7 separate regions of the Homo sapiens genome follow, and regions 1, 2, 3, 5, 6 and 7 are each linked to region 4. Evidence: promoter capture Hi-C in 16 types of primary human blood cells and fetal thymus (Javierre and others, 2016). All regions are on one chromosome and are shown on one strand. Each heading gives the region's core, a stretch centred on a gene start or on the middle of the fragment in contact. The rest is flanking DNA. Distances are from core to core; before and after follow the strand shown. Region 1 overlaps KAT2A (lysine acetyltransferase 2A). Region 2 holds the start of CNP (2'',3''-cyclic nucleotide 3'' phosphodiesterase). Region 3 overlaps NKIRAS2 (NFKB inhibitor interacting Ras like 2). Region 4 holds the start of ATP6V0A1 (ATPase H+ transporting V0 subunit a1). Region 5 overlaps RAB5C (RAB5C, member RAS oncogene family). Region 6 overlaps KCNH4 (potassium voltage-gated channel subfamily H member 4). Region 7 overlaps DNAJC7 (DnaJ heat shock protein family (Hsp40) member C7).

Region 1 (4,052 bases), core at 1,473-3,972, 340 kb after region 4:
GGTGGAGTCTGAGCCCATTTTGATACTGAGGGCAGTGAGGGGGCTCAGGGTGACAAGGTGCCCTGCCTGGCCACACAGCACAGGATGACATCAGCTCAGACCTGTCTCCCTGTGCCACACAGCGTGGTGAAACTGAGCCTGTTTGATCTCTGTCCTGGATGTGTCCTGTCCTCTTACCTTCAATTGGAGGCTCCCAGAAGACAGGGGCTGTCCCCTCTCTCAGGTCCCCAGTTCCCTAAGAGCAGGGTCTGTCTCTGACCAGCCTCCAGTCCCTCTGCTGCCTGGCCCAGGCTGCACCCTGGAGAACAGAGTTGTGGGACAGACTGTGTCCTCCCTACAGATTCCTGTCCATGCTGGAGGAGGAGATCTATGGGGCAAACTCTCCAATCTGGGAGTCAGGCTTCACCATGCCACCCTCAGAGGGGACACAGCTGGTTCCCCGGCCAGGTATGTGCCATGGTACGCTCTGTAGGGTGTCTGGCCTGCCTGGCTGAGCTAAGCCTCCTGGGTGGAAGAGAGCTCACCTGGGCCGGAGGCCCTGGATCCCACTGAGGGACCTGCCACCGGCTTCAGCCCCCCCAGTCCCTGCCTTCTCTCTCTCTCTCCTCAGCTTCAGCACCCCCGTCCCTGACTCTCTCTCTCCTCAGCTTCAGCCCCCGTCCCTGACTTCTCTCTCTCTCTCCTCAGCTTCAGCCCCCCATCCCTGACGTCTCTCTCTCTCCTCAGCTTCAGTCAGTGCAGCGGTTGTTCCCAGCACCCCCATCTTCAGCCCCAGCATGGGTGGGGGCAGCAACAGCTCCCTGAGTCTGGATTCTGCAGGGGCCGAGCCTATGCCAGGTGGATACTTGACCCCTGACCTCTGACCCTCATTCACTCCTTCCCAAACCTTTTTTACTGATCCTGAGCAACCTTGCCTGCCTCCCCAATAGGCGAGAAGAGGACGCTCCCAGAGAACCTGACCCTGGAGGATGCCAAGCGGCTCCGTGTGATGGGTGACATCCCCATGGAGCTGGTCAATGAGGTCATGCTGACCATCACTGACCCTGCTGCCATGCTGGGGCCTGAGGTGGGCAGCCCGACCTGCTGACCAGTTGGGGGACCCCCACCAACCTGAGACCCCGGCTCACCACCCCTCTTCTGTGCCCAGACGAGCCTGCTTTCGGCCAATGCGGCCCGGGATGAGACAGCCCGCCTGGAGGAGCGCCGCGGCATCATCGAGTTCCATGTCATCGGCAACTCACTGACGCCCAAGGCCAACCGGCGGGTGTTGCTGTGGCTCGTGGGGCTGCAGAATGTCTTTTCCCACCAGCTGCCGCGCATGCCTAAGGAGTATATCGCCCGCCTCGTCTTTGACCCGTGCGTCCCCCAGAGAGCCCCTCCCCCAGGGCAGCACACCCAGTTCCCTTCCTCCTCGGCCTCTTCACTCCTCAAAATTGGGGATCCCCTGCTCCCCACTTCTGAGGTTCATCCTTTGAGCATTCTTACTTCTCACTGCCCAACCCTGACTACAGCTCAGACTTCCAGGGCTCTGGGGACCTGAAGGGGACAGTCAGGGGCTATGACATGCCCCCCTCTCTCTTAGGAAGCACAAGACTCTGGCCTTGATCAAGGATGGGCGGGTCATCGGTGGCATCTGCTTCCGCATGTTTCCCACCCAGGGCTTCACGGAGATTGTCTTCTGTGCTGTCACCTCGAATGAGCAGGTCAAGGTGAGCGCGGCTCCCCGGCCCCAGCCCCAGTCCACGGCCCACTCCTGAGTTTGGGCCAGTTCGGAGCAGCAGGATGTGTGGCATGCAGCAGCCCGTTGCTCTTCTCTTAGTTAGCGGCCCGTTCCTCACATCCCCACAAGGTGGCAGCCGTACTTTGATAACTGTGGATTAGGAAACCACCTGTTGACAGACGGAGCCCAAGCAGCAGCCACACTTTGGTGGACCTGTGGACTTGGGTTTTCTGCATCACAAGAACATTTACATACATGGGGGAATTAATTACTTTACTTTTTATTTTTTATTTATTTTTTTGAAAGAGGGTCTCTCTCACCCAGGCCGCAGTGCAGAGGCATGATCAGGGCTCACTGCAGCCTCAACCTCCCAGGTTCAAGTGATACTCCTGCCTCGGCCTCCCAAGTAGCTGGGACCACAGGCATGCACCACTACGTCTGGCTAACTTTTGTATTTTAGTAGAGACAGGGTTTCACCATGTTGCAGGGTTTCACCCAGGCTGGTCTCTAACTCCTGACCTTAAGTGATTCACCCACCTCGGCCTCCCAAAGTGCTGGGATTACAGGCATGAGCCACCGCGCCCAGCCAAACTAATCATTATTACAGTAGCCCTATGCTGATAGTTTTGGCTTCTGTCCTTTGTTACAACAGACCCACTCGTAGGGTCTCTGGCTCTGTGTGTCGCATACCTCAGATCTGTGTGGTGCCTCATTGGCCCTGACGTGTGGGAGGCATTGCTCCTGCTGCTCAGACCTCTGGTGACTCCCTCTCCCGCTTCTCCCAACTCTGAGGCCCAGGGACTGGGAATCAGTGGCCTGTGTTGGGTTTGGACCCGGCCCTGCCACGGCTGGCAGCCTGACCTTGAACACATTTCCTAACGTAGCTGAGTTTCGGTTTTCTCTTCTGTAAAATAAAGGTGGTAATACTCGCCTCTGGGGTTAATTTGAGAATCGGTCTGTAAAACAGGAAGCACTGCACCTAGCCCAGAGTGAGCTTAGAAAGCCCGCACCCTTCACTTTCTCCCCATAAGCTCCCCTTCCTCTGTCAGCTGCCTTTCTTCCTCTTTGCCTGGATGCTCTCGCTCTCTCTACCTCCTTTCCAATCTACCCGCTCTTCTCTGGTCTCTGAGACCTCTCCAGCACCAGGCCCATCCTCAGCTCCTGGTGAGTCCTGCTTCCCTCCCCCGCAGGGTTATGGGACCCACCTGATGAACCACCTGAAGGAGTATCACATCAAGCACAACATTCTCTACTTCCTCACCTACGCCGACGAGTACGCCATCGGCTACTTCAAAAAGCAGGTGACCCGTAGCCTCGTCCCACACCGGTCCTTTGCCTGGAGGCTGGGGTAATTCTGTCCAGCCCCTCTGTGGATGGAGTAGGAGTCCCTTTGCGTCCCCTACTTCACCTGACACCTGCCAGGAGAGTCTCCATGCCTATCTTCTTTCCTCTGCTGCCATTGCCCCAGGGGAGAATGAGGGCCTGTGGGGCCAGTAGAGCAGGCCGGAGGAACTGGGGGTCAGTAGAGCATCCTGGAGGAACTAGGGGGCCAGTAAAGCAGGCCGGAGGAACTGGGGGGGGCACTAGAGCAGGCTGGAGGAACTGGGGGGCTAGTAGAGCAGGCTGGAGGAACTGGGGGGCCAGTAGAGCAAGCTGGAGGAACTGGGGGCCAAGAGCAGGCTGGAGGAACTGGGGGGCCAGTAGAGGAGGCTGGAGGAACTGGGGGGCCAGTAGAGGAGGCTAGAGGAACTGGGGGGCCAGTAGAGCAGGCTGGAGGAACTGGGGGACTCTTCGGGATGAGTCAGGAGTGGGCAGCTGACCTGGGACCTTTCCAGGGACAGTTTGAACCCTCACAGTGCCCCAGGAGGAGGTTCAGGAGCAGGAGGTGGCAAGTGGCACGTGCTACTCCTCTGGTGCTCCCAGGTGAGGGACGACAGAAGTTGGGAAATACTTATGGATGGACTGGGTCATGACCATCCACCCCCCAGGGTTTCTCCAAGGACATCAAGGTGCCCAAGAGCCGCTACCTGGGCTACATCAAGGACTACGAGGGAGCGACGCTGATGGAGTGTGAGCTGAATCCCCGCATCCCCTACACGGAGCTGTCCCACATCATCAAGAAGCAGAAAGAGGTGGTGTGCACACATGCGCATCTGTGGGATTTTTCATGAATGGGCATGCAGAGGGCGAGCACACGTGTGTAGACCTGTTCTACGTCTACATGCATATATGTGTGTGAGTGAGGAGGGGCAGGCCAGGATCTTGGCTCTTGCTCTGCTCCCTTGGGGAAGTTATGAGGGGAGGTGCTGGATTAGGTGGCGTTGCAGCTGGG
Region 2 (3,831 bases), core at 52-2,551, 490 kb after region 4:
CAAGACCCCCGTCTCAAAAAAAAAAAAAAAAAAGATCTGGCAATCATCCTGTCAAGCTTGATTCGTCCCATCTTGGGCCAAGGGCCCCTCCTTTCTTTTGTGCTACCGACCAGCCTGGTCAAGATGGTGAAACCCTGTCTCTACTAAAAATACAAAAATAAAAAAAAATTAGCCGGGCATGGTGGCAGGCGCCTGTATTCCCAGCTACTTGGGAAGCTGAGGCAGAGAATTGGCTTGAACCCAGGAGGCGGAGGTTGCAGTGAGCCGAGATCATGCCACTGCACTCCAGCCTGGGCAACAGAGCAAGACTCCGTCTCATAAATAAATATTAAAAGCAACTTTGAGCAGTAGTCACTCCAGGGCAGAGCCACCAGCTCACAGGTACAGGGCTTGCTCCTGGCCAATGTCACTGCAAGCACCACAGTTCACTGCAGAGTTCAAGTTTAGGAGCTGAGAAAAAAGCTCTCTGAGAACCCATACAGGCACAAATTCCCTGCTTCTGTGCAATATACACAATGTCAACAAACCAGAGTGGGGCTATTTCAGGCATGAAGATCATCTAAAATTGGGGGTGGCTGGGTGCGGTGGTGGCTCACGCCTGTAATCCCAGCACTTTGGGAGGCCAAGGCAAGCGGATCACCTGAGGTCAGGAGTTCAATACCAGCCTGGCCAACATTGTGAAACTCCGTCTCTACTAAAAATACAAAAATTAGCTGGACGTGGTGGTGCACACCTGTAGTCCTAGCTACTCGAGAGGCTGAGGCAGGAGAATTGCTTGAATCTGGGAGGCAGAGGTTGCACTGAGCTGAGATAGCGCCACTGCACTCCAGCCTGGGCAACAGAGGGAGACTCCGTGTCACAATAAATAAATAAATAAAATTGGAGGCAACCAGAAATGGCCTAAAGGCATATAGATGGATTAGTGGGTGGCACTTCTCCAACAGGTCACTCCAGGAGAGCCACCAGGACCCTTCTTTATCTCAAACCTATCATTGGAGCAAAAAGCCCATGCCAAGAGAGAACCCTGCTAGAGTGGCCAGAGTCCAGGGTTCCAGCCCGTAAACCCCACATCCCTCCTGGGTCCATGTTTTTCCATCTGAAAACGGGTTTTGGCCTAAGTGTGAGACTTGTGTCCTCTGGAGCTGCAGATGCCACAAACCCATGAGTAAATTGAGCAGTCCGAGGCCTGAGAACCATCCCCAGTGAAGCCACAATAGTCCTAGTTTTAATTTTTTTGCAGCTTACAATTTCATGTGATTATTATTATTATTTTTTGGAACATGATTCTGCTGCTAAAAATGCGTTGGAAAACACTGGGCTTGATTCCCCCTCTAAGGTTACATTAGAAGAGGACATGTTTCCTGTTACTACAGTAATTTGTTTTTCCCACCTCCAAGACAAGGGACAGTGGTCTACATTCAGGCTGGGAAAAGGGTGTCGGAGAGAAGAGGGCTAGAAGGATAGGTGTGGTGGGAGGAAAGGCGCTCTGGGAAGCCCCCGTGTTCCCAATGTGCTGCCAACTCCCCAAGGCTACCACTGGGACGCACCGCTTGCCCCTGCCCCCGCTGAGGTGAGCCTCTCTCTGCCTCCTGCTGCTTCGTGCTCCATCCTTTGAGTACAATGATGGTCCTTTGCCCGCAGCACCCTGTGCCCAGCAAGGTGGGCTTATAAGGCCCCAACCTGCCACCTACATTGTCGCAGCTCCTTCTTGAAGGCCTTGTGGTTCCCCAGCTCTTCCAGGAAGACCTGGCCGGCTTTGCGGAGGGTCTCAGAGCTCTTCTTGGTCAGGAACCAGCCGAAGTAGAGCGGCAGGAAGTCCTTCTCCAGCCCAGGCTTCAGCTTCTTCAGGTCATCAGCCGACAGCTGCCACTGGTTCTTCTCCTTGAGCTGGGCACAGTCCAGCCGCCACGCCGTCTTGGGCTCCACCAGCACCACCTGGTACTGGTACTGGTCGGCCATTTCAAAGAGCTGCTCCAGCCGTTCCCGTTCGTGGTTGGTGTCATCAAGCACAAGAATTCTGATGTCCCGGCGGCGGCAGTAGGCAGCCAGGTCCTCATCGAGCCGCTTGTACTCCTCGGAGAAGGCTCCTCGAGCGCCGGGGGTGATCTTGTAAGCGTCAGCCGACACCATCTTGGTGCCATCACGGTACTTGTCCACGATGACCCGTGCCAGCGTGGACTTGCCGCTTCCTGGCAGGCCGCGCAAGATGAAGAGCGTCTTGCACTCTAGCAGCGTGGCCACTGTGTCCTCATCCTGAAGGAAGGGAAACTGCAGCTCAGGCTTGTCCTTGGCCCCTGAGGATGACATCTTGCGGAAGAAGATCTTGGGCAGGAATGTGTGGCTTTTTCGGGAGAAGCCTCTGTTCTGTGTAAGGAGGGGAAGAGATGTCAGCCCAGGTCATTCGCGGGCTCCCCGCCGGCCTTACCCCTAGTCCCTAGACTGGTTGTGGGTGCCTTCCCAAGCGGGGCAGTGCTGGACCTTCTTTCCCTTTCGGTCCGGGAGCACCTTTCCGCTTCTGGTCGTGGAGGAGGAAGAGGGAAGCTTGTCTGAAGCTCTCCTAAGCGTGCGCTTTCCCCATTCCTGCCACTTCGGAAAGGTAAACGTGCTGGAGGCATGCGGGGCGCGCCAGGAGCCTGCGGTTCTGGGACTGGCCTCACTCTTATATGCTTGGCACCTACTAAGGACGTCCTCTTTGGAGGTGGGGGTCTCTGTGTCTGGGCCAAGCCACAGCTGCCACGGCTGAGTGCACAGAGAAGGGGGGGAGTGGAGAAGGGTTACCCCAAGACTGCCTCCCTTCCCCCAACAATGGCCGCAACAGATAATACTCTCTTGTCTGGCATGCGGGTACAATGGTCCCACAGAAGGGCTGGTGGGGGGCAGGGCAGGAGAGCACTGGACAAAGGCCCTCTTTCACCAAGCCTGCCACCTCCTCCTCTACCCTCTCCCGGCCCCCACAAAGTCGTGGTCTTTGTGCCTGTCCAGAACAGGGCAGCACAGGGCACCTGCAATTAGGATCCAGCTCTACCCGCCGCTGTGCTGTGTGTCAGAAGCGCCTCTCGGAGCCACTTGTTTTCCTATCTTCTAGAAGCCACAAGGGACGGCAGCTTTTACCGTAAAGGGTCCCCTCCTCTGAACTGGCTCCACCTCCCGCCCGCACCCGGGCGCGGGGCAGCGGTTCCGCGTGATGAGACTGGGCCCGGGGAGGGGGCGCCGAAGCGGCTGCCCCAGCGCGGGCCTGCGTGGGGTCGGGAGCAGCTCCCGGGCTCCCGGCCCAGGCCCACCCAGGCTCCCAGAGGCGCAGCAGCTTCTGCGGTCCCGAGTTCCCTCCTGAGAAACACCACCGTTTCCCTTTACAGCGGCCTCTCCGGCACCCCAAAACCCCTCCGCTTCTCCCAGACCTCAGGGCCGCCCTGAGTACCAAGAAAACTGGAAGTCGAACCCGGAGCCCCGGGTCCTCGTTTGCAAGACGCTTCCTCCCGAGGGGCCCCGACACTCGTTTCCCGCCCTGGTGCTACCCCGTGCCCGGCCCCGCCCGGCCTCTCACCATGATGAGGAGGGGCGCCACCGTCGCCGCCTCTGCCGGCACCAGCGCTCCGGGGCCGCCCGCCTGCGCGGAGGGACACGGGAGTCCAGCGGTGGCACGACCCGAGCCCGGCCGCTTTACATAGCCCGGGGGGCGGAGCGGGCACCCGGGCGGGCTGGGGGCGGGCCGTCTCCTCTGCGCGCAGGCGCTGCGAACCAAAACCCGAAACTCTCGCCGCGCGCGGGAACCTCGGCCCGGTCCCGCCCCCTGCGCGCGCCTGCTCCCCACGCGCACCCACCCACTGCGCC
Region 3 (3,964 bases), core at 793-3,292, 430 kb after region 4:
CCCAGCTTCAGGCTCACAACACAGGTCAGTAGTCCCAGGAGCTGGAGCCCAGGGAAAGGGTGGGACAGAAGCTAAGCCTCGCCAGATGAGGGCAGGCTTGAGTTCCTGGGTGCTTCGCTCAAGGGTTGGATGGCGGAGGCTTTGTGCTTGTGTGTTACTGAACGGACGTTTCTGGGTCCTCCCATTACTCCTTGGGGAAGGAGAATTGGGAAGAGAAGTCTGAGGCAGCAAGAACTGAAGGTCGCTAAATCTCTGAAGGGTCACTCCACAGGAGACAGGAGACATCTGCCTCTCTCCTTAGATTACACCCAGAAGGAAAGGACTGAGATCAAAGCAAAGGGGAAGGCAGCTATTTGTAGTGCAGAAAGGCCTTTCATAGGAGGGGCTGGCATGAAAGGACAGAAGCTGGGAGGGGAAACCACGTGTGGCTGGAGGGCGATGTGTGCACAGAGCAGCCGTGAGGCTTACAGGGAGAGCCAAATTGCATGAGTGTGGAGGGGGTCTCTGTGGCCCCTGCAACCCCTTCCTGCTGCTGAGAGACTGCCTTCTTCCCTCTCCAGGAGCCAAGCACCGGTGGATGATGGAAGGTCAGCGAGGGGCTCCCCGGAGGAGCCGGGGCCGCCCGGTGTCCAGGGGAGGTGCCGGACACAAAGCCAAGAGAGTCACAGGGGGCCGGGGCGGCCGGCAGGGGCCCAGCCCTGCCTTCCACTGTGCTCTCTGTCAGCTCCAGGTCAATTCAGAGACCCAACTGAAGCAGGTGGGAGAAGTGAGGCTGTGACTGGGGTTGGAGCCAGGGGAGGGGGTTGGGGGGCAGGGCAGCAGAGGGAGGGACCCTGAAGAGAGCAGGCAGGGCACAGCAGAGCAGGCTGGAGAAGCGAGGCCAGCAGGCCAGTGGGCCAATTAAGGGCAAAGGCCAAGACTCACCTCCCCTTCCCAGGGCCTACCCCAGGGTGAGGACCCAGTCTGTGTGCTTTGGATGTATGAGCTGTGGATAGAGGAAGGGGAAGAGTCGAGGATGATGGTCTTGGGGTCCTTGGGCTTTGTCATCTTGTTCCCAGTCTGTCTGTCTGTCCATTAGCACATGAGCAGCAGGAGGCACAAAGACCGCCTGGCCGGGAAGACCCCCAAGCCCTCCAGCCAGCACAGCAAGCTGCAGAAGCACGCAGCGCTGGCTGTGAGTATCCTCAAGGTATCTGTCTCCAGGCAACAGAGCTGGGACTGGGTCAGGAGGGGAGAGGGTGGGCTGGGAGGGCCAGATGGGGGGGCTGCGGTGGGGCAGGAAAAGAGGCCACCCTGCAATGAGGCTGCTGGGCAGTGACAGAGCTAGGCCTGGGAACTGGGATCTGCGCAGAGGAATTTCCGGGGAGGTGGGTTGGGATAGTCATCTTAGGGGCAAGAGTGAGGGGTGGGCGTGCATCTCCTAGAGACCATCTCTATCCCGTAAATCCTCCTCCCTTCTCCCATGCTGAGACTTTCCTCCCTCTGGACAGGAAGACAGGTGGTGGAGAAAGCCCTTCGGAATGAATGTTTGGGGGTGGGAAGGGAGGAGGATTTAGGTTTGGAACTCTAAAAGGCACGCTTTCCCTGCAGCAAAAAGCTTGAGGATGGGCCCCAGGGAGGGGGTGGGGTTTTCTGGGGTGGAGACTGTGTCCATTCCTTTCTTTTCCGTGTAGTCTAAACTGGCCTTGCAGAAGCAACTCACCAAGACGTTGGCAGCCCGCTTCCTGCCCAGCCCGCTCCCCACCGCAGCCACTGCCATCTGTGCTCTGCCAGGGCCCCTGGCCCTCCGCCCTGCCCCTACAGCAGCCACTACCCTCTTCCCGGCTCCCATCCTGGGCCCAGCTCTGTTTCGCACCCCAGCAGGAGCTGTCCGCCCTGCCACAGGACCTATCGTCCTTGCCCCTTATTAGCCCTCATGGGGAGGCCAGAGCTGATTTCCCAATAGCCACTCCTTGTCTCCTCCTGTCCTGAGACACCTTGGTTTCCTACATGCCACAGGGACTGTGAACAGCTTCAGGGGTCCTGCCCGATCCAGAAAGAGCTGGGCTAGTTTTAAGGGCAGCTGCCTTCCAAGGACTGTCCCCACCCTCCTTTCGCAGGCCTTCCAGGGTTAATCCTAGGCTTGCCTGCATTTCCCACCCTGACAGACCCCAAAGATCTATGCAAAATCTCAGCCCCAGCCATGTGGTGCTCTCACTTTCCTCCACCCAAGACCCACATGGCCAGACTCTAGGAATCTTAGCTTCTACAAGCCATCCTCTCCTAGCCAGGGGACGACTCTCTGACCTCTATTCCTAGGCTTTGGGGCTTCACTGGAGATAGGGATGGGGTCTCTAGCTGCAGCAGGCTCAAGGCTGTCAGGACAAGGTGACCATGGGAGTGTGACAGAGGACCATGGAGGAGAAAGGGGGACCCAAAAGTCCTTCGATCAGCAGTGCTAAGGTGGGGCAGAGCCAAGGAGGTAGTGGGGCTGGTTCTGAAAGCTTTTGGGGGCTTCATCTGCTCTGAAGGGGTGGGACTAAGAGAGGAGGTGATGTTCTGGTTGGGCCCAGGGTTTTGTTTTAATCTTAAGTCTTCTGGGCATTCATGGGCCCAGTCTTTTTTTCTGTCTGAGAGTATCATTCTGTTGCCCAGGTTAGAGTGCAGTGGTGCAATCTTGGCTCACTGCATGCAGCCTCTGCCTCCCTGGTTCAAGTGATACTTGCTGATAAGCCCAGTCTTAATATTGAGGGAGTAACTCATCCCTCAGAAGCTCTTCTTCTTAGCCTTTCTCTGACTTCCTGAACCCCAACTCTTGGAGGGCGGGTGTGGGTCTCCCTCAGACTATGGACTCAGCTAACACCGAACCCCCCGCAGAGCTCCCAAAGGAAGAGCTTTCCCCTACAGCTTCCCACTCCAAACTGGTCCTAGCACTAAATTCAGCTTTCCCTTCTCCCAACCAGCCCCTGCCACTGTGAAGCTGAGTGTTGGGAGGCAGTCTCACATGCACTGGCAAGACCCATTTTCATGCTGTCAATGTCAATGTCACAAACTCCTTTCCACTGCAGCACTGCCCCCTCCCCACCCCACAATATGGGACCCTGCCAGTATCCCCCTGTATCTTTTTTTTGTTTTTTAAAGACATTTCCAATGGGAGAACCAGAAAAAGGGGGAGGGGAGGGAAACTTTTTGATAACAATTGTGGTTTTATTGTGTCCAACCAATGCATCAATAAATGAACTTGAAGCCCAAGCCTGTGTGTGTCCTAATTCCACTCACCCAGCCCCGGGCACCTGCCCCACTCACCTCTGGCTTTGAGAAGGGGCGTGTGTCGGTGGTTGCCTGGCTGCAGTGTCTCACCTAGGCTAGGTGTGCACCTTAGAAGCACAAAGCGGGCACAGTTGTGGGTAATAAGCTTACTCTGCAGGCCGCTGGGTGTGTGCCCACCCTCCTGAGCCCCGAAAGAGGACCTGTCAGCTCCTGAGAGGCTGCTACGGGTTTGCCTTGTTCTGTTCAGGCATCTGAGGTAAGAAGGAGGGGCCAGAGGAGCACCTTGTCCAGCCTTCACCATGAGAGCGGGCATATAAATATAAATACAGGTAACTTATAAATAGAAGTCCAGCTCTGAGCTGAAAACCACAGGCAGGATAAAGAGCAGCCTCCAAGAGCGAGGCTGGCGGGCTGGGCACTGAGCGGCCACTCTGGTGACTGACAGCAGGTAGTGCACTCCTGCCCCCTGGTGGCTGGAGGGAGCGGCAGATCCCAGCCTCCAGGGCTGGTTGGCATAGCACCTTAAAGAGGGAGAAGCCATTGGCTTTACGAAATCAAGAGAACTGGAAAGGATCTAGGAGATCATCTAAGCAACTCTGGTCATCTTACAGATGAGAAACTGATGCCCAGAGAGGGGAAAGGTCTTGCTGGGTCACAAAGTGGGCTGGTGACTCATAGCCCAGTTATTCTATTCCATCTCAACCAGTGAGGCCCA
Region 4 (3,970 bases), core at 984-3,483:
ATTTTTGCAAATAAAAAACAAAACATTCATCATAAGGCATCTGACCACGATAGCAATAGAGTTCAGCAGTAATCAAGTCGCAGCCCCACAACTACTTACGTCACGAAACTGAACCTTTCCAAGTTCTCCTAATTCACTGACACAACAATAAGCAGCCTCTGACTGTAGAAAAAGCTGGGCCAGTGTCATTTCTTCACTCCGGAAAAGCTCCCCCATGGTGGCAGAAGGTACCAGTCTAGTGAGTACCTGGATTTCTCTCCAACCTGAAGCAAAGAGAAAATGACATAACTTTGGAAATTACCACGAGGGCTAAGAGCAAATGACACCCCACTACGGCTCTTGCATTTACATTTCTAACACCCCATGAGGACAGGTCAACAACTGTTTTTGACACCCTGTCTAGAAAGATGGAAAGGAGAAATTGCAAAGGCAGTTCCTGAATTCTGTCCCACAGAGTGTCAGATGAAAAGTCACTTCCATTCCAGTCAACATCAGGATCAAATGACAATTATTTTGGGCAACTCAACTGATAAGAATGTATCCAGATTAAAGACAGGAACTGGGAACCTCAAACAACTCTTTAAATACCCAGGACACAATATTGAGGCAGTGAGTTTCACACTGCTCAATCTGTTTTTGCTAGTGCAGGAAACAAACAGAAGAGGCCTTCAATACCCTCTCATAAAGATGTCTGCCTTGTAACTATCCTTCTCCCTTCTACTGACAATGCGCATTTCTAAAAGCCCAAAGTTCTGGCACTATCCTAAAGCTATGGCTACACTAAAGGGTTTAATCTTCCAGATTCCTCAGAAAACAATATTTCCCCACTTAGGAATTCAAACAAATAACCGTCATCTGGAAAAAGCAACCAGTTTGCATATTAAGCTCAATTTCAAATCAAGCATGACAGGAACACACTGATAATGACAAAGCAGTTTTATCAAGCCACAGAGAATAAGCCTTCCACCTCTGCAGCTTTCTGTTTCTCAACCCTACCTTCAAGATTAATTACATTCTTCCATCTGTCAAATCTCATGAGCCAATAAAGGTTTCGTTTTAGTGCTGTCTTACTGTTGCCGGGTATGAGACAACTGGCGCTATCAGTGGTCCTGAAACTGCAATTATTTATTCTCGATCAGCTAATGTAAGGCACAGCCTGTCCAGTATCCAAACTCAGAAAAATGCACAGTATTTTTAGTGTCATAAGGGCATCTATACTGAGTACTGATAGATGAGTCTGACATCAAAGGAAGATTTACTCTTCTGGAAGGCTGGGAGACATTTTGAGAAATCTGAACGAACAAACCTTTGTGCATGTGATGTTCAAGACAGTAACACAAGCTCAGACATAAGCAAGGACTTCTCAAGAGAATATGCAGGCTGACTTTAAGATTCTGTACATCTGAATCATCCAAATCAGCTGTTACCGGCACCACCCTTAAACAAAGAGAGATTCTACAACCTCTAAACACATAAAATTAGGCCTGGTCAGCATAGTTCAGGAGCTGTGGATAATGATAAGCCTCCAACGAGTCGCCTCCGTCCTCCTGCTCTTTAATGATTATAGGTCTCCCAAGAATATCTCTATAGCAATGGAGGCTAACAGAAAACTAATTAGGCCAAAGTAGTTCTGGACGATCACAAAACAAAATATGAAGAAACAGCAATTCTGCAAAAGATGAGTCCAACTACAGCGCCCCCGCGCCCTGCCTAGAAGAATCTCACTCCTGTCATCCGGTCCTCGCCTCCTCCCACGGTATTCACCTGCTTCATTTCCTGTCTACCCAATGAGCAGGAATTCTCTGGACTCAGGCTCATCTACCTTGAGATGGGAAAAAAGGAGAGGAAAACCCCCAAACTGAGAAACCCTTTAAGAAGCCCCCTAAATTCTTCTGCCTATCCAATAACCTCCGGTTCCTCCGCCTACCCCTTAAAGCAGGGAAGAGATGCGGGGCTTCCAAAGGGCAGTGAGCCTCCGGTTCCTCAGGGCAGAGGAGGGGTGCCCAAGGAGGGGGCGAACCCCCATTTTATCTCGAAGACGTCAGATCCCCGCTAATTCCTCTGACAATCAAGGGGGCTCTTAGAAGGATTTCCTACGTCCATCGAGGGCCGCTCCCTGTTGCGCTAAACCTACAGCCCCCACTCACCTCCAAACTCCGCCACAGCAACCGCCACAGAAACCACCGCAGCCAAACCCGCACCCTCCGCGGCTCCAGGAGCAGCGCTTCGACGTGCTTGCGTCCGTAAAGCCCCGCCCCTGCGCCGCCGCCGGCCCCCGCCCCCGCAATGACCTCATTGCAGTTGGCCAATGGGGCGCAGCCTCGCCCGGGCTGCAGCAGTGCGGAGTCACGGGGGTCGCAGGCGAGACCCAGCGTGCTGACGCCATGTTGGCCCCTGTGCTGTATCTCCACGCTGGGGAGGGTTAGCGGGTGGGGCTGGAGGTGCAGGTGCTCGAGGCCTTAAGTTCCTGAGCCTCCCTGAATCCTTTTTCTTACCCCTTATACTGGGGTAGGTTGTCTTTTCTCTTTCTTTTTTTTTTTTTGAAGTCTCATTCTGTTGCTCAAGCAGGAGTGCAGTGGCGTGATCTCGGCCCACTGCAACCTCCACCTCCCGGGTTCAAGCGATTCTCCTGCCTCAGCCTCCCAAGTAGCTGGGACTACAGGCACGCACCACCATGCCCGGCTAATTTTTGTATTTTTTTTTTTTTTAAGTAGAGACGGGGTTTCACTATGTTGGCCAGGCTGAGTCTCGAATTCTGACCTCGTGATCCACCCGCCTCGGCCTCCCAAAGTGTTGGGATTACAAGCGTGAGCCACCACGCCCGGCCTTTTTTTTTTTTTTTTTTTTTTTTTTTTAGATGGTCTGTTTCCCAGGCGGGAATGCAGTGGCGCGTTCTCGGCTCACTGCAGCCTCCGCCTCCCGGGTTCAGGGGATTCTCCTGCCTCAGCCTCCCTAGTAGCTGAGATTACAGGCACGCACCACGCCACCCGGCTATTTTTGTATTTTTTGTAGAGATGGGGTTTCGCCATGTTGCCCAGACTGGTCCTGGCCTCCACCCGCCTCGGCCTCCCAAAGTGCTGGGATTACAGGTGTGAGCCACCGCGCCCGGCCCTCTCTTTATTTTCATATCCAAAGAATTAATTCACACATACGCACCCAAATAATTAATGTCTTCTCTCTTTATTTTCATATCCAAAGAATTCACACACACACTCAAATAATTAATACGCAGACACATATACCACCCTTTCTCTTTTCCCTTATTTTACAGATGAGAACATTTGAGCCCCAGACTGGGGAGCGGCTAGCTTTAGATCCTGTAGTAGAGTCTTTAACGGGGTCTCATTTGCATAAGTATGGAAAACCTCTCTTTAAATGGTACATGGTTCATGCCTTCCAGCAACTTCCCCGGGTCTATTTTTCTCTGTTTAACAGGAAAAACCTCATCAGACCATATGTTGTGAAAGTACATTTCAGTCTTGTTTGGTAGATTCATGTGGGCTCAATTGACCACTTAGGAGTTTTCAATTCCTCAAATTTATTTTAAAAACATTTTTTATGGCTTGTACTCAACTTGTAAATTAAATATTGAAAAACATTTTTTAAACGCAAAAGTGATGTCTATTATTTTTTAAATGCCATTATCAAATATTGATATTGATTCCCTTTTCTTGCCCTTTTAAAGAAGAGTAGGGATCTCAAGTCGTTTGTGATAACCAGAATTGTATCAGGAAAAACTCAGAAAACCGGTTATTCTGTCTTCCTGGGTGGTGGAACCCTGTTGAAATTCAAGTGTAATGAGGGAGATATTCCAGATAAAAACTTGTTGCTGATAATTTTGTCAACCTGACAAAAACATCATCAAACCTGCTTTACCAGCCTAAACAAAATAAGGGGACAAAAATGGACGTTTTATTTGAATTTATTGTCTCATATTGTGAGTGAAGATATAACCTGACTTCAATACAAC
Region 5 (3,537 bases), core at 1-2,500, 320 kb after region 4:
ATCGTGGCTGGCGTTGCTTCAGATTCTTCTTTCCTCTGGGTCTGCAACCAGCTAGAAGCCTGGATAGTCCTGCTGTGAGTCTGTCCTCTGTTTCTGTGTGCTGGCAGTGGTTTTCCCTTTTGAGGAAGAGCTGTGTTCTTGAGCCTATGGGTAAATCATCTCCCCAACTAATCGGAGCCTGGGAAGCATTTGCAAAACCTTGACTCCAGTTGGCTTTTAAATCAAATGTCTTCCACTTTAGCCTTTGAACCGAGTTACTTCCTCCTGTGTCTCTTGCTCCATTTTCTTTAACAACTCCTTTCTGCTGTTGTTTTTTTGGTTTGATTTTGTTTTGTTTTGCTGGACTCTTGTTTAAATATTCAGGAATGCCCTTTTCCGGGGTAAAATGTAGCTGAAGAGTCACTGGTCAGAAGCACCTGCAGGGGACCCTGGGCGGGGTCACTTGGTTCTCAGGCCACCTGGCTAACCTTGAGTGAGCTAGTCTCTACGCCCCGCCTGCCCTGGTCAACAGTCTGATTGGTTTCCCTAATCAGCTTGCTCTCCAGGCTGTGCCAGGACTCTCAGCTAGAGGAAGTCTCTAAAGCAAACAGGAAGTACACGAGACACTCATCAGCTGGAATTGCTCACCCTTTTACCAGGAAGGACAAAACATATGAAGTGGGTGACTTCGTGGATTAGAGGAAAGGTGAAACTTTCAAAGGGAGGTTAGGGGGAGGAATTGCAGCAGCATCTAGTGTCTTGGAGAAGGCTCCAGTTGCTGAGTGAAGCTGAAGACCCCTCCCACATTCATGGACTTACACATGCACACTTACGAGTTGTGCACAGCACTGATCGGGGGTGCCTTTCTGTCTCTTGGATTTCTCCCTCCTTCGTATATCAACTGTAGCTCTTGTGCTTCGATCAACTGCTTAAAATCACTGGGAACTTATTTTTAAAATACTGATTTCTGGACTCCACCTCTAGAGATTCTAATTCAGTTGGTCAGGGTATTTTCTAAAGGCCCTGGGTGATTCTGGTGAAGAAGAGTTTGACTGGAGGCTGAAATAGAAGGATCACTTGAGCCTGGGAGGTCAAGGCTGCAGTGAATCGTGATTGCATCACTGCTCTAGCCTGGGCAACAGTGAGACTCTATCTCCAAAAAAAAAAAAAAAAAATTACAGGTGGCTCACACCTGTAATCCCAGCACTTTTGGAGGTTGAGGCAGGAGTTTGATACCAGCCTGGCCAGCGTGGTAAAACCCCGCCGCTACAAAAAATACACAAAAATTTAGCCGGGTGTAATGACGTATACCTATAGTTCCAGCTACTCCTAGAAGCTGAGGCATTAGAATCGCTTGAGCCTGGGTGGCAGAGGTTGCAGTAAGCAGAGATCGTGCCACTGCACTCCAGCCTGGGTGAGAGAGCGAGATTCTGTCTCAAAAAAAAAAAAAAAAAACTTAAGAAAAAAAAAGAATTTGAGACCCACTGACCTGTAGTGTCCAGAGCAGAGGGAACCCCGGAGCAGGGAAGAACAGTGTCCCATTTTTCTTTCTCTTTCTCTTCCATCCTTGGCCCAGAAGTGCCTGTGCACAGGGCCAGGGTGTTTAGGAGCTTAGATCCCTTCTGCGCTTTCATGTGCATTGTATTAATAGGAAAATAGTGTGACTCCAAGTCCTTATACATTCTCTCCCCTTTCCTGTGGAAGACATGAGGTTGGGACTGGTGCTTGTTCTTAGTGGCCTCTGAACAAGCCAGGGTTCTGATTTGGATGGTGGGTCCATGGCAAGGAGAATCTTTCTCCCTAGATCTGAAGCTCCAGCACGGCCATTGTACTTGTGAAAAAAAGTCAACTTTTTTTTGAGACAGAGTCTTACTCTTTTGCCCCAAGCTGGAGTGCAATGGCGCGATCTCAGCTCACTGCAATCTCTGCTTCCTGGGTTCAGGCAATTCTTGTGCCTCAGCCTCCCAAGTAGCTGGGATTACAGGCGTGTACCACCACGTTGGCTAATTTAAAAAAATCAACTTTGACTGTAACTTTAGCTCTTATGGAGAATTTGATTTTTGTCTCAAAGAAGACTTTGAAAACTATGTCAGTTTTGGCTATAATTCCATCACCTGACTGCACAAGTGGATAATTTTTGCCAGGGGTTCAAAAAGAAAGATTGCCAGTAAGACACACATCCCTGGGAGGCAGGACAGCTCAGTGAATGCATTCACCTTTACTACCTGCCATGTCTTCAGTTTCCCAGGCTTGGGAGGAGAGGGTATAATGCTTCCTGGGGCTCTCGGTCTGGCCTTCCCCTGGCTTAGACACCCTCATATCTCCGTGCGCCCTTCCTAGCAAAATTGGCTTCCTTGGGCTTTATTGACTGCAAAGGTTGGACACCACTGCTCATTTGATCACCAAGCAGGGCCAGGCAAACCACTAGGCAACAGACCGTAAAAAGTGCTGGGTGTGCCTGCTCAGGTATCTCTGGAAGGCAGGATCAGTGACCAGGCAGAACATGTCACCAGCTAGTTCATGCCAGGGAGAGCCTGTCTCAGTTCATTGGGATGGCCAGAGTCTGTTCACCAACAGTCTTGGAGAAAGTGTTACAAATAACCCTGTCAGTACTCTTAGCTACTGTTTACTCAACATGATGTGTGTGAGACAGCTGGCAAACACTGCCATTAACCCTGGTGTGCCCCATATTAGTGATGAGAACACTGAGGCTCAGCTCAGGTGGCTTCTACAAAGTGATTCAGAAGTGGCAGGAGACAGTCACATCTGTGGTGCCGAAAGCCAGTGCCTGTGCTCACTCTCTCTCTGCCAGATGCTCTAGCCCTGGCTGTGCTTCAGTGGGTGTGCTTCACCTGCAGATGCTGGGCTCTGTGCCAAACCTTCATGAGAATCTCGAGGGGCTGGCTGCACAGATGACTTCAATGTACAGACACCGTTGAGAACCACTGCAGGAGAGTTATTTGTCTCCCCTTCTGGCTTGTTTTTAAAAATCACATTCTGTTCCTCTAACCCTGTGGTTTGGTAGTGACAAGACTTAGATCTGTTACCTGTATTTTTCTCGACCTGTAGGTGCTGGTTACTTCCCAGCTCGGTACCCTAAGCACCAGCTGCTTTGGTTTTTTTGGAATCAGAGACTTGGTTTTCTATTACCATCTCCCAGTCCATTCATACCTCCTCCTCCAGTGCCCCAGCCACAGACCATTGCTCAGCCAAGACTCTGTGTCACGTGGATTCATGGTAATAACCAACTTGTAATTCCACTGTGGTTTTCCCTCTGTTGCTGTCGCCCTGCCTGGCTCTGGGCGGCTCCTCCCACTGTTGAGGGCACTCAGAAACTGCAAGATTACTGTGACTGTTGCTAGAGCCAGCTAGAGCTAGACCTTCCTGGACCAGCAAAGTTGCTGCCACAAAAAAAGAGAGTTTCATTCACCTAGCAGCCCTAAACCAAACATAGGGCAGGCACTGCCTCCATTGTTCTTCCACAGCAGGGAGGATGGCATCATGTCTATGGTGGGTCTGGGGGGTTCTGTCACCTGTAGGCTGGGTGACCATGAGCAG
Region 6 (3,719 bases), core at 1,106-3,605, 280 kb after region 4:
GAGTTATGATGGTGCCACTGCACTCCAGCCTGGGCACAGAGTGAGACTGTCTCTAAACTTAAAAATGTAAAAATCAAGTTGGGTGAATGTCAAGCCTCATAAATACCCTTGACAAGACATGATTGGTTCAAACAGGGGCCTGGGGCCGGGCACAGTGGCTCACACCTGTAATCCTAGCACTTTGGGAGGCTGAGGTGGGTGGATCACCTGAGGTCAGGAGTTCAAGACCAGCCTGGCCAACATGGCGAAACCCCATCTCTACTAAAAATACAAAAATTAGTCAGGTGTGGTGGCATGTTCCCGTAGTCCCAGCTGTTTGGGAGGCTGTGGCAGGAGAATCACTTGAACCCAGGAGGTGGAGGTTGCAGTGAGCCAAGATCATGCCCTTGCACTCCAGCCTGGGTAAAGAGCAAGACCCTATCTCAAAAAAAAAAAAAAAAAAAAAAAAAAAAAAAAGGAGGAGGGCCTGGGAAATACTTGGCAGGAGAAGAAAATGTCAGGTGTCAGCCTCTGCGCCCCTCTCCTGGCCTTCTATCTCCTTTCATTCATGGTCAAAAGTGCCCTTGCAGTGCCCACCTGCTAACTTTCCCCATCCCCTGCCTTTCCCACCCCCCATCTTGGCTCCTCTTTCCCTCAAGTGTCCCCAACCGCCACCCCTCTCCCCTTAGAACGTGTTTGAGCCAAAGCCATCAGTGCCCGAGTACAAGGTGGCCTCCGTGGGGGGGTCTCGCTGCCTCCTCCTCCACTACAGCGTCTCCAAGGCCATCTGGGACGGCCTTATCCTCCTTGCCACCTTCTACGTTGCGGTCACCGTCCCCTACAATGTCTGTTTCTCGGGTGACGATGACACCCCCATCACTTCGCGACACACCCTTGTCAGCGACATCGCCGTGGAAATGCTCTTCATCCTAGGTCAGACCTTCTGCCTCACCCACCCTGGTGGGTCGGCTGGGGGGATCCACTTGGCCAAGCCTCACCCACTCCTGGGGCCCACATGACCCAGACATTCAGAGCCCCTTCCTTTCTGCATCTTTAAGTCCCAATGGCCCATGTGTCCTGCTCCCCGCAGCCTTCAGCCTTGTAACCTATCCTCCCTAAGGACCAGCCAGAAGCCCAATCTATCTCTCCATGCCTGCCTCCTCCTCCAGTCTCCAAAGCTTGTTCCCAGCTTTGTCGGTTTCTTGACCCCTTTGCCAAGGCCCCCCAGTAATAGCCTCTTGCACCCCCAGATATCATCCTGAACTTCCGCACCACCTATGTGTCCCAGTCCGGCCAGGTAATCTCTGCTCCTCGTTCCATTGGCCTCCACTACCTGGCCACCTGGTTCTTCATCGACCTTATTGCTGCTCTGCCCTTTGACCTGCTTTACATCTTCAACATCACCGTGGTGAGTGACCTCCATCCCGCCATCCAGTCCAACCTCCCAACTTCAGCACAGCATCTTCCAGGAAGGGACTGACCCCAAACCCAGATATGCCCCTTCCCATCAATCCATCTGCAGATATTTATCAGGCACCTGCTCTGGGCATAGCCCTGTGCTAGGTACTGGGAGGATCCCGAGGGTCTGTGATCCTGGGGAGCTCAGCTCACAATCTTTGAGGGAAGCTGAGACAAATGAAAAGCTAACTATGGCTACCAAGGCGGCATTGGTCTGATGCCAAATGAGTGGTACTTTTCACATTTTTATTTAACAAACAACTGATGAGCATTTAGCTGTCTGCAAAGCACTGTGTGGGGCATGGCCACTGTGGGGAAAGGGAACAAGGATTCAGCCTCTAAACAGCCAAACTGGTGAGGGGGCAGGAATGCCACAGAGCACATCAGGGACAGAAGAGGTGAATGGGGGTGGAAGATGGGGCCCGGGTATGCTACAGAGGGGCTGGGCTGACCTTGGAGTTCCAGGCTGGAACATGAGTGTGTGTAAAAATGATCTGAAGTCTGGCCAGCACCTGGGAAGCAAAAGCGCCCTTGTTGGGCAGAGGCTGGAGGGGTCTGGGAAGGTTTCCTGAGGGAGGCGGAGATGGTATAGCTAGACCTTAAAGGGTGAGTAGGATTTAGCTGGAAGGAGATGAGGACAGCAAGCATTTGGGGGAGCATAGTAAACCTAGACAAGAAGGTAGAGGCTGTGGGGTGAATTCAGAGGCAAAGAATGCCAGGACCTGAGTCCTCACAGATCCCTGGGGACACTCTGGAGGTGCCCTGAGTGGTCATCTGTGGCCCCAGCCAGCAGATAGTAGGTCTTCTCAAGTCCAGGGTGGGGCAGTGCTACCCCGTGTCCCCAGGCCCCCTTGGGTGTGGGGCGGGCAAGTGGGGAGCAGTTTCCTTGTGTGCTCTCTCCCTGCACTCAGCTATAGCAGGAAACCACCTACACGCAGCCGAATTTAACTAGCCGCCAACGGGCTGTGGGCCTCCTCTCCTGGCTGTGCACACGTGTGTGCGTGCTCCCACACACGTGCATGTGTGTACGTCTGCCTCGAGGCTCTGACCATTCTGAGCAGATCTCCCTACCCCTCCCCAGGGGTGCGCCCACCCCTCTATGCCCACCAGGCACCATCAGCTGGGGAGTGGGACACTACAGAGAGCCCCCTGCCCCTCCTCTCAGGTCCCTTTGGGAGCACGTTACAGTTCCCTATGTTCTTTCACACTCATCATCACATGGGAGCCCCACGGGAACCCTTCAGGGCAGAGGCTTATCCTTTTTCAGAGGTAGGTACAGAGGCTCAGAGAGGTTCAGTGACTTGCTGAAGGTCACATACCTAGCAGGGGCAGGCAGGATATTAGAACCAGGTCTCTCCACCCTGGGCAACAGGTGAAACCCCTTCTCTACTAAAACACAAAAAATTAGCCGGGTGTGCTGGCACGTACCTGTAGTCCCAGCTACTCGGGAGGATGAGGTACAAGAATTGCTTGAGTCCCAGAGGTGGAGGTTGCAGTGAGCCAAGATAGCTCCACTGCACTCCAGCTTGGCCGGGCGCAGTGGATCACCCTGTAATCCCAGCACTTTGGGAGGCCCAGGCGGGCGGATCACGAGGTCAGGAGATCAAGACCATCCTGGCTAACATGGTGAAATCCTGTCTCTACTAAAAATACAAAAAAAATTAGCCAGGCGTGGTGGCAGGTGCCTGTAGTCCCAGTTACTTGGGAGGCTGAGGCAGGAGAATGGTCTGAACCCGGGAGGCAGAGCTTTCAGTGAGCCGAGATTGCGCCACTGCACTCCAGCCTGGGCGACAGGGACTCTGTCTCAAAAAAAAAAAAAAAAAAAAAAAAAAAAAGAACCAGATCGCTAAACTTCCAGTCTAGTATTTTTTCCAACATACCACCCTGCTTCCCAGGTAACCAGGGCCCCTGAGTGGATGGTCTGGTGAGATGAGGAATACCACTGGGGGCCAGAGAGAGGTAGAGCAGAGACAGAAGATGAGCAGGCACTGGCAGAGCTGCAGACTTGAAGGAGCCAGGCCTGGATATTCTAGTCCAAGGAGAATGACAGGAGTATCCCCAAGAGAGTGGCCCAAGGGCAGCTGACTGAGGGAAGCCCTGAAGAACTCAAGCTTGCAGTCAAGGGCTCTGGGAGCTGGGGGTAGGCATTAAACCCTGGCGAGGGTCCATATGGAGGAATCAGAGCCACCTCCTTTCCAGTTCCTTCACCTAAAATTAGAGAAAAATTGCACGAGGTGGTCCAGGAGCAGTGTAGGGCCAGGGCTGTGGGGAATGTTCCTGGA
Region 7 (3,958 bases), core at 467-2,966, 460 kb after region 4:
GAATAGCTAATTCTGGCCTGATGCTGTGCAGTGTGAGGTTAAAAACATGGCAACTTGTCACAACACAATTCTTCTTGTTCTTTTTGCTGTGGGCTGACTCTACATTACTTGCTTTGTTTGCTCTAGAATGGAATCTACTCACCATTTACTAAAATGAAATGCATTTCTTTGGGGAGGCAAAGTCCAGTTCACTAGGTCTTGCATCTTAAAGAGAAAGGAGCCCTGCTTCCTCTATGACTAATTGTTAGGAATGTCATTTAGCTTATTTAAATACCGATTTTGGTTCTGGGGTTGAATATTACATGTGGGGTGTACTGTGTGTCTTAGTTTAAACAAATTTATATGTATTGTCCATGTCTTACATATATTGTCCATGTCTTACTCCTCGTAGTACAGACTAATTTTCAAAATAGTTAGCAGTAAGCGGAGGCAAGCATTAGAGAGAAAGCTTGGCATAGTAGAAAGTGCACAAGCTTTGTATTCTGACAAACATGGGTAACATCCTGACCTCAGGCAAGTTATTTAACCCCCAGGCCTTATTTCCTCTTTTGAAAAATGGGAATAATGAAGTTCACCGGACTGTGTTTTATAGAGGATACTGTATGGAAAGTACCTGGCCTCAGTAGTTATTAGTAACTGTCCACCAAAATCATCCTTTGCATTTTTTCTAGAAGCCAGTCCTGAACTCCCCGACCTCCATAGGGGTAGTGTCTTAGGAAGGAGGAGACTAGGGGCACCTTTCAGCAGCCCTGTACATTATTTCACTTTCGACTAACAAGCTTTATACTGCTGACACAGTGTCTCCCCAGGTACCTAGATGTCTTCGTTTTCCTCAAAGATTTGTATATTCTTAGCCACTAGCCAACTGAAGAAGAGGCTAGATCTTCTCTGATGGAGTTTGGGCCTAATGTCTTACTTTGGAATTTGCTACTCCATTTCTTCACAGCAGTTTGACTAATCGAAATCCAGTTTTGGGGAAGTCCTTTGTTCAAATCCCTTGGCATGTCTGCTCTTAAAGGATAGGCTCCTGAGAGTTTTTATAAGCACTTTGCTTAATTTAGAGTTACAGGATGGTGAATACCATGTAGCAAGATTTCAGTTGGTTCTTTAAATCTTGCAATTGGGGGATCTTTCTTGAAGATTTTTCATAGCAGAAGGCCTCTTTTCAGCATTGTGATAGTTGGTATAGACAGTTACTCAAGCAGATTTATATCCATCACATTTCACAGCTGTCAGCATTTATAGGTCATTCCCATTTGCCTTCTCCTTCTAGCAGCCTTTTCATATTAGTAGGGCTTGCCAGGACAGTGATGGAGAAGAATGGAGAGGGAGGATCACCTCAATAAAAGGAGGGCGACTTTACCAGTTTGTAGTTTAAAATACTTAAGTAAATCACAAATCTCCCTAATGCAGATATCCGTAGACTCAAGCTGTAAATTGCTGTACCATCACCAAGGTTTAAGAACTAGGACTTTTGCCTCAACTTCAGGCAACCCCGAACTAGGTTCTTTTTTGCATGTGAACAACAGGAAAAGAAAGATGTTTCTCATAACAAAAATGATCAGGTACTTAGTTAATGTTGCAGTAATCATTTCAGTAAAGAATTATCTTTATCACTTGAGCAGTGGAATGATTTTGAGTATCTTGATAGAGGTTACTAGTTCTTTTAAAACACTGTTGGTCATGTCTGATTTGATTCTAGGTACTTGCTCGGGAATCTAATTCCCAATTATATAACATTGTTCCTTTAGGACAAAGTTTAGGAAAGTATACTTTGTCTAATGGCACAGTTTCAAAAAATAGATCTTAGAGGTAGGGAAAAAATACTGCTATCACCCAGTTGCTGAATATATAAGGTACTGGAGGGAGTACAAAGAGGGCAGCAAGTACCTACATTGTTGTGATGGGAAGAGGGAACACCAGTGGATGGGTGCTCCTTATAGTATGGCACTGGCATCCTGTACCTCATATGTCCCTGTCATCCACGGTCTTAGTCTCTGCTGTCACTCAGCTCTGTTCCTGTCTTAAACACCAACATGCTATGCTTTTAACTCTTTTGCCACCTGCCTTTGCTCTGCTTGTTCTTCCAGTGACAAATGCATGAGCCACTTTTCAGGAGGTGAAATTATTAAAACTCTTGAGGATGTGACCTATTTCACATTGAGAAATAAGTTGCCCTGAATGGAGTAACCATTTTTCCTGTAAGTTTGCAAAAGAGGCAGCAGTTGTGACACTGTGGAAGGAGATAGAAAAATTCCTTGCCATGAGGGAATGTCTAAATTTGTCCTGCGGGGAGGATGACTACAGGCAGAAATAGTGAGGTGAGGCAGGAACATAAGAGGGGTTTTCTTGATTTAGTTTGAATGTATCTAAGTGACAAAAAGGAGCATCTGAAGAACTTGGATTCTTTCATTAGCACCTCCTTTTGGTCCATTGGCCTATTCAACAAATCTATAAATCCTTCAAGTATCACACTAACTTTCAGCTCAGTGTGCTGCGGGCTCTAGACCAAAGATTCCTCCTGTAAGATTACAGAGGTTATTCCCTTTGTAAAGTAACATGATTCTCTTTCTCTTTCATTTTCAGGGAAGCAGAGACTTTCAAGGAACAAGGAAATGCATACTATGCCAAGAAAGATTACAATGAAGCTTATAATTATTATACAAAAGCCATAGGTGAGAAAGAACTGATACTTACGCTAGAAAACATTTACTTGCCAAATATTATTAAAAGTAGCTGCCAAGTCCTGGTGGCTCACGCCTGTAATCCCAGCACTTTGGGAGGCCAAAGCAGGAGGATCACTTTAGATCAGGGGTTTCAGACCACTCTGGCCAACATGACGAAACCCCGTCTCTACTGAAAATACAAAAATTAGCTGGGCCTGGTGGCGGGCACCTGTAATCCCAGCTACTTGGGAGGCTGAGGCAGGAGAATTGCCTGAACTCGGGAGGTAGAGGTTGCAATGAGCCAAGATTGTGCCACTGCACTCCAACCTGGGCAACAAAGCAAGACTTCATCTCAAAAAGATAAAAAAAATAGGCCAGGCTCAGTGGCTCATGCCTGTAATCCCAGCACTTTGGGAGGCCAAAGCAGGCGGATCACTTTAGATCAGGGGTTTCAGACCACTCTGGCCAACATGACGAAACCCTGTCTCTACTAAAAATACAAAAATTAGCTGGGCCTGGTGGCGGGCACCTGTAATCCCAGCTACTTGGGAGGCTGAGGCAGGAGAATTGCCTGAACTCGGGAGGTAGAAGTTGCAGTGAGCCAAGATTGTGCCACTGCACTCCAACCTGGGCAACAAAGCAAGACTTCATCTCAAAAAGATAAAAAAAATAGGCCAGGCTCAGTGGCTCACGCCTATAATCCCAGCACTTTGGAAGGCCAAGGCAGGCAGATCACCTAAAGTCAGGAGTTTGAGACCGGCCTGGCTAACATGGTGAAACCCTGTCTCTACAAAATACAAAAATTTGCTGGGTGTGGTGGTGCGTGCCTGTAATCCCAGCTACTAGGGAGGCTGAGGCAGGAGAATCGCTTGAACCCAGGAGGTGGAGGTTGCAGTGAGCTGAGATCCTGCCGTTGCACTCCAGCCTGGGGGACGACCAAAGAACTCCATCTCAAAAATTAAATTAAAAAAAATTGAGAAAAGTAGCTTCTCTCTGAGAAGTAGCCTTTTGCCCAATGGGTTGATAACTGTTACTGTATGAACTCCTTCAGGCTTAATGATCTCATGAAGGCCAGGCGTGGTGACTCATGCCTGTAATCCCAGCATTTTGGGAGGCCGAGGCGGGCGGATCACCTGAGGTCAGGAGTTCTTCTCCCCTAATTTGCTTACCCCAACTCAACATGCACATTTCATTTCAGCCTGGCCTGTTAACATGGTGAAACCCTGTCTCTAAAGATACAAAAATTAGCCAGGTGTGGTGGGCGCTTGTAATCCCAGCTACTCGGGAGGCTG

Evidence for each region. The method cuts DNA at HindIII sites, captures the fragments that hold promoters and counts their contacts. A CHiCAGO score of 5 or more calls a contact.
Region 1: a contact is called between a fragment that was not itself captured here and the fragment with the promoter of ATP6V0A1 in region 4, in 4 of 17 cell types (fetal thymus, naive CD8 T cells, activated CD4 T cells and 1 more). The highest score is 6.8, in fetal thymus.
Region 2: a contact is called between a fragment that was not itself captured here and the fragment with the promoter of ATP6V0A1 in region 4, in 1 of 17 cell types (erythroblasts). The highest score is 5.2, in erythroblasts.
Region 3: a contact is called between a fragment that was not itself captured here and the fragment with the promoter of ATP6V0A1 in region 4, in 1 of 17 cell types (fetal thymus). The highest score is 5.8, in fetal thymus.
Region 5: a fragment that was not itself captured here is called in contact with the fragment with the promoter of ATP6V0A1 in region 4 in 1 of 17 cell types (activated CD4 T cells); the score reaches 5.8 in activated CD4 T cells.
Region 6: a fragment that was not itself captured here is called in contact with the fragment with the promoter of ATP6V0A1 in region 4 in 2 of 17 cell types (activated CD4 T cells and total CD8 T cells); the score reaches 5.2 in activated CD4 T cells.
Region 7: a fragment that was not itself captured here is called in contact with the fragment with the promoter of ATP6V0A1 in region 4 in 2 of 17 cell types (naive B cells and erythroblasts); the score reaches 5.7 in naive B cells.

The regions. Positions count from the first base shown.
Region 1 is chr17:42,114,692-42,118,743 of GRCh38, reverse strand. KAT2A (lysine acetyltransferase 2A) reads left to right here. Exons shown (of 18, transcript NM_021078.3): 7 at 341-447; 8 at 727-837; 9 at 930-1,066; 10 at 1,148-1,356; 11 at 1,583-1,709; 12 at 2,911-3,021; 13 at 3,709-3,852. Among named protein-coding and RNA genes, the nearest start is that of DHX58, 4.0 kb to the right of the region's middle. RefSeq lists enhancers at 2,385-2,704, 2,428-2,963. The HindIII fragment of the contact is 5,792 bases long and covers 1-4,052 here.
Region 2 is chr17:41,966,601-41,970,431 of GRCh38, reverse strand. CNP (2'',3''-cyclic nucleotide 3'' phosphodiesterase) reads right to left here and starts at 3,637. Exons shown (of 4, transcript NM_033133.5): 1 at 3,545-3,637; 2 at 1,692-2,364. The coding sequence starts at 3,547. RefSeq lists enhancers at 1,490-2,047, 2,048-2,605, 2,606-3,163 and silencers at 3,135-3,324, 3,455-3,831. The HindIII fragment of the contact is 2,485 bases long and covers 59-2,543 here.
Region 3 is chr17:42,024,843-42,028,806 of GRCh38, reverse strand. NKIRAS2 (NFKB inhibitor interacting Ras like 2) reads right to left here. Exons shown (of 4, transcript NM_017595.6): 4 at 3,166-3,964. ZNF385C (zinc finger protein 385C) reads left to right here. Exons shown (of 9, transcript NM_001392013.1): 6 at 1-24; 7 at 561-757; 8 at 1,079-1,189; 9 at 1,674-3,231. The coding sequence ends at 1,910. Among named protein-coding and RNA genes, the nearest start is that of NKIRAS2, 6.7 kb to the right of the region's middle. RefSeq lists enhancers at 1-50, 3,821-3,870. The HindIII fragment of the contact is 886 bases long and covers 1,600-2,485 here.
Region 4 is chr17:42,457,141-42,461,110 of GRCh38, reverse strand. It overlaps ATP6V0A1 (ATPase H+ transporting V0 subunit a1), which reads right to left and starts at 2,233. Exons shown (of 22, transcript NM_001130021.3): 1 at 2,148-2,233; 2 at 100-263. The coding sequence starts at 216. RefSeq lists a silencer at 2,164-2,373 and an enhancer at 2,524-2,613. The HindIII fragment of the contact is 8,228 bases long and covers 1-3,970 here.
Region 5 is chr17:42,132,878-42,136,414 of GRCh38, reverse strand. The region is part of intron 1 of RAB5C (RAB5C, member RAS oncogene family); the gene reads left to right. Among named protein-coding and RNA genes, the nearest start is that of HSPB9, 12 kb to the right of the region's middle. RefSeq lists enhancers at 2,493-2,542, 3,113-3,162. The HindIII fragment of the contact is 4,693 bases long and covers 1-3,537 here.
Region 6 is chr17:42,173,247-42,176,965 of GRCh38, reverse strand. KCNH4 (potassium voltage-gated channel subfamily H member 4) reads left to right here. Exons shown (of 17, transcript NM_012285.3): 5 at 669-912; 6 at 1,230-1,387. Among named protein-coding and RNA genes, the nearest start is that of KCNH4, 6.0 kb to the left of the region's middle. The HindIII fragment of the contact is 2,391 bases long and covers 1,160-3,550 here.
Region 7 is chr17:41,999,199-42,003,156 of GRCh38, reverse strand. It overlaps DNAJC7 (DnaJ heat shock protein family (Hsp40) member C7), which reads left to right. Exons shown (of 14, transcript NM_003315.4): 2 at 2,587-2,675. Among named protein-coding and RNA genes, the nearest start is that of DNAJC7, 16 kb to the left of the region's middle. The HindIII fragment of the contact is 1,869 bases long and covers 782-2,650 here.